Regions from separate parts of the Homo sapiens genome. Here all the other regions are linked to region 1. The links are contacts of gene promoters, found by promoter capture Hi-C in human tissues and cell types (Jung and others, 2019). All regions are on one chromosome and are shown on one strand. The core of a region is centred on a gene start or on the middle of the fragment in contact, and the rest is flanking DNA. Distances in the headings are between cores, read along the strand shown. Region 1 holds the start of CACNA2D3 (calcium voltage-gated channel auxiliary subunit alpha2delta 3). Region 2 overlaps CACNA2D3 (calcium voltage-gated channel auxiliary subunit alpha2delta 3). Region 3 overlaps CACNA2D3 (calcium voltage-gated channel auxiliary subunit alpha2delta 3).

Evidence for each region. The method cuts DNA at HindIII sites, captures the fragments that hold promoters and counts their contacts. A contact is called where the count stands out against the background at its distance.
Region 2: a fragment that was not itself captured here is called in contact with the fragment with the promoter of CACNA2D3 in region 1 in 2 of the 25 tissues and cell types used here (hippocampus and neural progenitor cells).
Region 3: a contact is called between a fragment that was not itself captured here and the fragment with the promoter of CACNA2D3 in region 1, in 2 of the 25 tissues and cell types used here (neural progenitor cells and pancreas).

What each region holds. Positions count from the first base shown.
Region 1 is chr3:54,121,293-54,124,462 of GRCh38, reverse strand. CACNA2D3 (calcium voltage-gated channel auxiliary subunit alpha2delta 3) reads right to left here and starts at 1,911. Exons shown (of 38, transcript NM_018398.3): 1 at 1,628-1,911; 2 at 869-950. The coding sequence starts at 1,749. LOC124909381 (a long non-coding RNA gene) reads left to right here and starts at 1,021. Exons shown (of 2, transcript XR_007095914.1): 1 at 1,021-1,406. RefSeq lists a silencer at 3,105-3,154. The HindIII fragment of the contact is 8,759 bases long and covers 1-3,170 here.
Region 2 is chr3:54,158,150-54,161,536 of GRCh38, reverse strand. The region is part of intron 2 of CACNA2D3 (calcium voltage-gated channel auxiliary subunit alpha2delta 3); the gene reads right to left. Among named protein-coding and RNA genes, the nearest start is that of CACNA2D3, 37 kb to the right of the region's middle. The HindIII fragment of the contact is 5,633 bases long and covers 1-3,387 here.
Region 3 is chr3:54,181,996-54,185,244 of GRCh38, reverse strand. The region is part of intron 2 of CACNA2D3 (calcium voltage-gated channel auxiliary subunit alpha2delta 3); the gene reads right to left. Among named protein-coding and RNA genes, the nearest start is that of CACNA2D3, 61 kb to the right of the region's middle. The HindIII fragment of the contact is 5,314 bases long and covers 1-3,249 here.

The sequences.
Region 1 (3,170 bases), core at 662-3,161:
TTCTATCATCAAGAGAATACTTTGATTAATCCTGTTGATCTGCTAACTTGAAATTCTTTGAACCCCTCTAATCTCTCCTCCCAGACCCATTTTTTTTTCTTTATTTCCTGAAGGGGAGAACGAAGGACCATTTATCTCACAATGTAATTTTAAGCTTATGCTTAAAATGCTGCCTATTTGAATTAAAATTGATGCAGCTTGTGATAAGAACCTAATAATCAATTCTCCATTCTCATTACTCTCCAGAATTACATGGATGCAGACCCATTTCTTAAGTTTGTGGACTACTCTCATAGGTTATTACCCGGCAGTGCAGCTGAGTGGAAAGATAACCACATTCATTCTCCTTATCTGCAATGATGTAATGCATCCTAGCCCTGGGTCTAGATGATTGGGGAATAATGGGATTGTACAACTGCAGGGATGACAAACAATAGTGCAGCGTCTTTCTCTGATACACTGAACCCCACGCCTCCAACGCAAGGTGAAAGGCATCACAAAATAGGCACTGAGTCTGCCCCTTGGATGAAGTTAGCATTTTTTGGCCCGAGGAGCATCTGCTCTGGCACTGAAACAGCAATACCGACACGGAGACGAGAGCCATGCAAAAACACTCAGTTTCCGAGCCCCAGCCAGGACAGTGCGAGTGAGTATCCTGCTTTTCTTTGTGGTTAGAATCAAGTGTCATCTAAAAATAACCGGTTGGTAGGAAGAAGTCACTGCATAGTACAATGCCAAGAAACCCGGGGATCAGAGAGTCCTCCGATAACTGATGCTGCTCGGGGCTCACGTTTGTTTGGAAAACTAAATCTGCCTCCATTTTCTGTGCCGGAAAAATCATCGCTTCCTGCCACCACAGAAACCTTACCTTTTGCAGAAGCTGGGAACCGGAGTACTTAGCAGCAATGGATTTTATCTCCCCACCAAAAGCCGAGGCCCAGAGCTTCACCCTACAGGGAGAAGGGGCACAGGAAGATATGTAACACCCGTGTCACAGTCAACACGCACGCACACGCACACGCACACATGGGACTATGGCTGAAGGAGCAGTGCGATGTAACATGTTTTAAAAGAAGAAAAGATAGAAAAAGCGGCTTGGTAGAAACTGCCAGCACCAAAACTGCAAAGCGCAGCGCGGGAGGGGGCCCGAGGGGGGTCGCGGAGTTAAGAATGCGCAAAGTCTCCCAGGCTCTCTAAAAAGACCACTGAGTTTCATTCGAACCACTGCCCGAGGACTCGACCCCCCAAACTGGGCATCACCTGGCAAATAGCAGTCAGAAGAAATCCACCCATCCCCCCCCCAAAAAAAGAAGTGGGGCGGCAGTAGAGCAAAGAGGGGGGAAATTCAGCGGCCCATGGAAGTTGGATTCGGTAACCAGGCTCCAAAGTTGGTGCCGTCACTTGAGGTGAGCCTCTCCAGATCTCACTCGGCAACCTGCGGGCAGGGGCCAGAGCATCCCACCCCGGCCTCGCCGCCCGACGCGGGTCCCGAAAGGCAGGTGCGAGCGGCGAGGCCGACGCCCGCGGCGGGTCCTGCCCAGCCGCACCTGCAGGCGCCCAAACTTGGGCACAGTGGGTCGCAGGCGGCAAGGTCCCCTCCCCGGGCGGCGCAGGAGCCGGCACTTACACGGAGAGCGGTATCTGCTGCTCCGAGCGCACCACGTCCCCCAGCGCGGCGTAGAGAAGCGCGGCAGCGAGAAGCGCCGAGGCCCCCCGGGACGCGCGGCGCGGCGAGCCCGGCCCGGCCATGCTGGGCTCCCTCCGACGCGCCCGCTGCGGCGGCGACGAGAGCGGCCGCGGGGAGCTGCGCGGAGCGGGCGGTGGGCGAGCGCGCGGGGCTGCCTGCTCCGCTCCGCGCCGCCCCGCCTGCCTCTCGCGCGCCCGGCTCACTTGGGGAGCAGAAAAAGGAGCGGGTGGGGGGGGCGGGGAGGGCGGAGAGGAGAGGGAGGGAGGAGAGGTGGGGAGGGAGGGAGGAGAGGTGGGGAGGGAGGCGGGCGGGGGAGGAGGCAGCGAGACGCGCCTCTAGCAGCAGCAGCCGCCCGGCCCCGCCTCGGCGGCCCCGGGGAGTCCGGCGGGCCGCGGCGGGAGGGCGGCGGGGCAGGAGGCGCCGCGCGGGCGGGGACTCGGAAACTCCAGTGTCCTTGGCCGCGGCGGAGCGCGCCCTGCCCCACCCGGGCTACTGCGGCCGCTGAGTTCTTTACAACTCCGCAGTCCGCCACCGCGGGCGCGACTCTGGGGCTGGCCCCGGGCCGGGCGACCCTAGCCAGGGTGGGGGTTGGGGGCGCGGGAGGGAAGCCGAGGGCAGGGCGCGGCGCTCCGCACTTTGCGGGCGGCTGCTAGGAGAGGGCGTAGCATGCCCGCTCCGCCCCTGGGCCGGGCGGGGTCGGGGGCCGCGGAACCTAAAGGGGGCGCGCCCTCCGCCCCCGCCGCGCGATTCTCCTGCGGGGAGGGAGCTGGGGAAGAAGCAGAAATCTCAGAAAGGAGCACAGGCTCGCGGCGGCAGGCGGGATCGCACGCGGGGCGGATCGGGCTGGGGATGGGACTGGGTGGGAGCTCGGGGCTCTGGCTAGGGCAGCGCTGCGTGACCGCCCGCAGCTGCTCCTCCGGCCGCGGCGCCCGACAGGGGAAAGCACGGAGGGCGGTGCTGCCACCACGGCTTGGGCGCACCAGCGCGGGGCTCCCGGCATCCGGCCGCAGCGCAGCGGCCCCCTGCGCGCCCGACCCAGGCCCCGGGGCTCCCCAGCGGCCGCTGCCTTCGGAGTCCGCCCGGCTGCGGTGACTGGTGGGGACCGGGATGTCAGGGTTGAGCGAGGAAGCCAACGCGGCGCCGAGTCGATCCTGACCGGGGGACACCCTGGATTTCGGGATAAAAGATTTCTCCGAGCCTGGGGGATTGCCTGCTCCCCACTCCGGCGCCCACCGCACTGGGCAGGAGGCAGTGAGCGCCGGAGGAGGCGCCTTCTCGCCGCCCTCAGGGGCGAGGAGAAAGGAAGCCGGAGAAGCCCCTGCGCGTTCTGGGAACCAGGCTTCTCCCCGCCTCTCTCGCCGCTGCCCCCACCCCGGGACCCAGCTTGCAGAACCCCTCTCCCCCGTGCGAGGTATGGGGTGTGATTGGGAACTTTGTGGAGCCCTCGCGCAGGCTGGCGGTAAAGACCGACCGGAGTGAGGCT
Region 2 (3,387 bases), core at 461-2,960, 37 kb before region 1:
TGCCATTCAGTTACTAATTCATATGCAGAAGCAAAGGTGGGCTAACTGTGACGCTAAAGACACTCACAATTCAGGGATCCTCCCTGGTAGGTGCCCCTCCAAGGGGAACTAACATGTGTTCACAGGCCTATGTTTTTGAAAATTAACAAAAGTAGGATATTTTAATCTCAATTGGCTAAGACTGCTGTCTCCTTTACCCCAACTTGCCCGTCATGCTTCTCTTCTGAGCAGGTGGCAATGGTATGGCCACGGCAGTGTAAGGATCTGGTGAAGGGGGAGTTCAGTGGAGATGGGTTGGGTTTGGGTGCAGAGGGCTATCTGTATGTTTTATTTCCCTGTATGGTCATTGCTGGTTAGTAATATTGGCAGAGCTGGGATTCACACCGCTTTTACGTGTGTGAAGGGAATAATTTCAACATGGCATGACACTGTCTTTCATGAACATATTGCTCCCTTACTAAACAACTGCCAGCACACAGCCCTTTCCCACCTGCACACAGGCTCCCCTTTCAATGGCATCCACACAGCTGCAAACCTGGCACCTGGCTGCCTCCCCACACTGGACTCGCCTGCTGGACTTCGCCTTTGCTCATGTTTTTCTTTCGGCAAAATGGTCTCATCCAATCCCATTTCTTCAGGCAATTTAATTTCTTACTCCTTTGACATAAAAATACTGATCTCAATGAAAAATAACATAAAACTCATAAAATACACAGAAAATGAGGACACATTACAAATTGGTTAATGAGTGTCTTCCATTCAAAGAACATTTAAGATCAGTTACCGCACAGAAAACTTGAAACAACGTGAAGTCTCACAGCTTACTTCTGAAAGAAATTGGAGAGAGGTCTTCCCAGATTTGACAACAAGCCTAAAAACATATATGACAATGCCAGTAACAAGCAGTGAAGCTAAAGGAAACTTTTCTAAATGATCAATAGTAAAAATCAAACTTCCATCACCCATTCTAGAGCTGGGGCTCTGACTGATGCCAGGGTCTCAGCAATTCCTTTATTTTATTTTATTTTATTTTTTTTGAGACAGAGTCACCCTCTGTTGCCCAGGCTGGAGTACAGTGGCGCAATCTTGGCTCACTGCAACCTCTGCCTCCCAGGTTCAAGCAGTTCTCCTGCCTCAGCATCCTGAGTAGCTGGAATTACAGGCGCCCGCCACCACACCCAGCTAAATTTTTGTATTTTTAGTAGAGATAGGGTTTTGCCATGTTGGCCAGGCTGGTCTCGAACTCCTGCCCTCAGGTGATCCACCCACCTTGGCCTCCCAAAGTGCCGGGATTACAGGCATGAGCCACTGCACCCGGCCCCAGCAATACTGATTTAATGGACCTAGGGAGCATCTGAACATTAGGATTCTTAAAAGTTCCCAAAATATTCTCCTGTGCAGACCATGTGGAAAACCACTGCCAGAAGAGAATGAATCATCTTCCTATTCTCTCCATAGAAAACAATATTACAAAATCATCATCATATGAAGAGTAGATCAACAAGCACTCAGCCAAAAACTAGAAGAAAGAAACAAGATTACAGAGCTTGCCAGGCAGTTAATTAAAACAATTTATAAAATAATAATAATTGTATGTTATCTTCTGGATGTTTGTAGTATGTTTGCTATATAAACGATACTTTTATCTTTCAGATTAAATAATGTGTTGTGATTTCTTTCCTATTCATGATTTTGTCTCTTTTTTTTATAAAGTCTATCTCCCCCAAATTGCAAAAGCTTGAATCCTCTCCAGGGAAAAGAGCAATATTTTGTGTATTATTTTTCAAAAGAGGGAAATTCTATTGGTCAAATTAGATTTTTAAAAAATTTTGTGGGTAACAAATCCAACCTAGTCCCAAGAGGATTAGACATAGAATCAACATTTACCAGTGTTAAGCCCATGGGAACTTGATGATTCTGTCATAATTGCTTCCATATCTTGCACCCAACACAAGCCTGGCACACGGGAGGCACCGGAGAAAGGTTCATTGAATTTGTTTTTCTTGATTTACCCCCTCTTCTACCACAGGATATACTTCAGCTATGCAGAATATAATTTCTTATGATATTAAAATTTAGAATTTTTTTCCTTAAACTGCATCACTTATTATACAGTTATTAAAAAGGACTCTTATGATGTGTAATAATACCATGTAAAACATAATGTTCATGACAAAGCACCTAAAATTGTACATACCAAATGATCACAACCAAATTAAAGCACAATGCACTGAGCAAGGAAAAGTCAAGAAGGAAAAAAAAAATGACCACGTTAATATCAGGGATGTTTGGGTATAAAACTATGGATTTTTTTTCTTAAACTTATTTCTACATCCCCACTTTCTAAATCATCTTGAATGATCATGTTCTGTTTTTATGATGACTGAATCAATCAAAATCCCAACAGAAAATAAATGATCCAGGCAAACAAGAATAATTTAAAGAGGGTTTGATTCAAAAGGATGATTTAAACTGGAGGGGAGGCAAAGCTTCTGGCATTGGAAACAATACAATTGCTGGGCAGTGTGAACAGACACGTGACTCTTAGAGGCTTCTTCCAGGAGATAAAACAGATCACCCCCACTCATAATCCACTGGCCAAAGTAAGTCATACGACAATACTTAATTTCAGCAGGGCAGGGAGTTCGATTTCATGTGCACAGAGGTAGGACAAATGAAATATTTGTAAACTAATGACCATCACAGAAGAAGGACCCAGAGAGCCTACTTCTTTTGCATGTATGCAGATGGGCAGGTCTGACATGAAGCTTCAAGCAAAACAGGATCAAAAGTGCTTGCTAAGTGAGCAAATGAAAATCATTTCCCCAAGAGGAAGTGCTCTCTCTCCACTACCTCAAACAACACAGAAAAACAAGCACTGTGGGCGAAGTCCATGTGGGAACTTGATCATGGAAAAAAAACAATTATTAGCCCTGAAAAACTAAGGGTGTCCATCTAGTCCCGAGAAGCCAGTTCAGTATCTACAGTACTCTTTGTTATTCAAGAGATTCGATTTTATGTAAAATGGAAAAGTCGGTTTATCCTGGAGAGAAGACACATGGCATAATTCTCACTGGGGTGGGCTGGACACAGGAAGCCCACCTCATACTGTTCTTAAAGCTCAAGATGAGCTCCTTTTTTCCCCACAAGTGGCAAACCCTGGTTATACTGTTCAAAGAGAGAATCGATGCTGAAAACACTTTCAAGTCAGTCTGGAACAAAATTTCCACAGAAGGCATCCGAAATAAAATAGCTCACAAAAGGAGCTAAATTAGCAGGTATGGGGATCTGGCTGCACCCAGGGTGACCTCACAGCTGCTGCTCGAAAATACACCCCCTAGAGAGGCCAAATAAAATGCCACAGAAATACAGGGCCAGGGGCTCCTA
Region 3 (3,249 bases), core at 22-2,521, 61 kb before region 1:
TAAAGAGCTTATGTGTCAGGGCAAAGCAGAGCTTGGAAACTTCTATAAGCCATTTAGAAGAACTGCAATCTGAAAAGTACAACAATCACAACTTATGGTATTGAAACAGGTTTTTCCATTACTTCAACCTTCTAACCAATGGGTTCATTACTATCCTGTCAACAGAAGAATTTCAGCATTTATGAACAGAACTTACAGGAAACATACACAAACCCCTCCCACTTCTAAGGCACAGGACCTTTGGCTCAGACCTTTGGGGTAGTCACACAACGCCAAATGAATCCTCCCGTAAGGGCTTCCCTACCTAGCCTACGTCCCTGGTCACTAAGAAGTCATTACCCTCGCTAATACTAGAAATGGTTGGGGCTCTCACCTCAGAATGTTGCTGACAGAGATAAACATTGCAACATTCCATTGTTTGCTCCAGAAAACTCCAGAATTTCAGTTCCAGAGGCAACCTCCCTCCATTTCACCCACATTAACTACTCTGAATCAAAGAAAAAACAAAGAAATGCAAACCAAGAAGAGATAAGAACTGAAGAACCTCATGTCCCCAAATGGATTCAATGCCATCGAGTATGATAATAACCCACATAAACCATAAAGTACTTCCCCATGGGATGGCCCATTTCACATGTCAGCCAGCCATGAAGGCAAGGGAAAGATGAGGTAGGGGCTGCACTAAGGCCTATGTATGCTCTGGGGATTGGGGAGACAAATGTCCTTTTCTCCTATAGCCAATGCTAAGCACAGCCTGGGTTCAAACCCAGACCTCAGGACTCTAAGCTCATGATCTTGGGCAAATGACCCAGACTCTCTAATACTTCATTTCTATGCCTCTAAAATTGGTGATGGGAGGATGGGGGAGGGCTTAAGGCCTTAGCACAGAGTAAGTGAACACACATAGGAAGTGGCTACTATTCACTCAATTATATAAACATTGCCTACCTGTAGTCTGGGGCTGCAGCAATGACCAGAGGCAGCGCACAGCCTGAAGGGTTTGTCAAGTGTGCGCCAAATGTTCCGACAGAACCTCTAGGGCTCCAGCTTTCCCCAATCAGCCTGAATCTCTGATCACTCTGTTTTCCCAACTCTGTAAGAGTACTTATTTCCTGCACTCAAAGAGATAGAAAACAACATGTGCTTGTGCTCATGACAATTACCCTGCCTTCAAGCTTGACCTGGGACAGCTGTGTCTCATTGAAAAAGACCATCACAAATGCACCGGAATGCATGCCATGGAAAAAGCAGATGATTCCTGCTTTTTGATTCCACAGTCAAGGTAATTCCACTTTGCTTCAAATGAAAGGAAGTAAGGCTCTTCTTTTTTTTTTTTTTTTTTTTTTTTTTTTCTTTTTTGAGACGGAGTTTCGCTTTTGTTGCTGAGGCTCGAGTGCAGTGGCGCAATCTCAGCTCACTGCAAACTCTGCCTCCCAGGTTCAAGTGATTCTCCTGCCTCAGCCTCCCGAGTAGCTGGGATTACAGTCATGCGCCACCATGTCCGGCTAATTTTTGTATTTTTAGTAGAGACGGGGTTTCACCATGTTGGCCAGACTGGTCTGGAACTACTGACCTCAGGTGATCCACCCGCCTCAGCCTCCCAAAGTGCTGGGATTACAAGCGTGAGCTACCGTACCCAGCCAGGCTCTTATTAAACTCAGGCAAATGTGAACCTAGAAATTGAGAGAACACAATACACAGATTTTTTTTTTAATCTATGGGCTTCCTGAAAGTAAAAGTTTTAGAAAGGAAAAAGGCGCGTTGGCAAAAAGCACCCAAGTATATGGGCCAGGATGCAGATCTAACCCTGCCACCAATCAGCTATGTGACACTAAACAGGTCACCTCTTCTTCACAGGCCCCAGTTCCCTCTCAGCCTGCAAGAGGGCAGGCCACCACAAACCCCACAGCTGCTTACCACTCCAAACACTAAAACCCTATCAACCAGAATTAGGTGCAAACTACTATGGAATTTTGAAGTCTCTCTGCATTTCTTTCAATATATTTTCTGAATAGAAAAAAAAAAAAAAAAAATTTTCTTTATGCCTCAATTCTCCCAAACTCAATTCCACTTTCTTAACCACCGGTAATTGTGATGGTTTTTATTCCAATTTTGTTGGGGTCAAGCAAATTACATTTCACAACATGAAAAATATTTTGGGGGGGGAATGAGGTCAACTTCAGAAACGACAAATACAGTAAAGCTTTGTCTCTGATTATTTCCCACAGGAATATGTAGATTATATCTTTTACATGGGGACAAGTTGTGATTTAAAGAAATGTCATAATGTGCTGTGAAATAAACTCAGAAATAGGCTTTCCACCCAATGTCTGATAGATTAGTTCCTCTGCTTGTTAACTGAATTTGTGCATCGGCTTCTATTCATGACTCTGATTGTTATTTTCAAATTGTCTCTTGAGCTATATGGTGCTTCCAGGATTTATTTTCCAGCCTGTGGCATGATAAGCAGTTTCTGCCATCCCAGTGGAAACCCACAGAGAGGAAGTGATCGCCCAGGGCCCACTTTCCCAACCACCAACCACAGCAAGTGCAGAGCACTCAGCCACAGCAAAGTAAAACCCAACCAAATTAACTGGTAGAGTTATCTAACATAGTCACTCTAAATCAAATAACGTAGTAACATTTGTTTCAGACTACAGAAGAAACATTAGATGTGAAAATAAAGCCATTCGTTGGATTTTTCAAAGGAATGGGAATCAAAGTTTTACCAACTCAGAATCAACATCCTGTTCCCATCTGCCCAATAGGAAGGAATGCATTTATTTATGCCAGTGACGAGCGGACTCCTGGCATCTGATTTTATTTATTACAGTATCACATTACAGAAAGCCATTTGTTACCTCTTCTTTATGCTTACAATAAAGGGTGACAATATTTATCAAAAAACTCATTATCAAGTGAGACAAAAAGCTAAAATTGGATTTCCAAAATAAAAATACCAATCAAGCAAAATCTCATTTAAAGCAAAAAGATTTTTCCATTCTGACAGGATTACTGAATGCTGATGAGTTCTCAGGGAGTGTTGGACAAGGCTGTACTGCTAAGTGGCTTACCCAAAACACTGTCATTTTTCATAAGTCCTAGCATAGAAAACACAAGTATTTGCATTAAAATTATTTTATAACTTCAGCTCTGGGGCAATCTAAAACCTAACTTTGATAAATATTGTTGCCTGTAAATACATTTACAGAAGGGTGTATTTATCGACATTTCAAGCCCACTAGATTA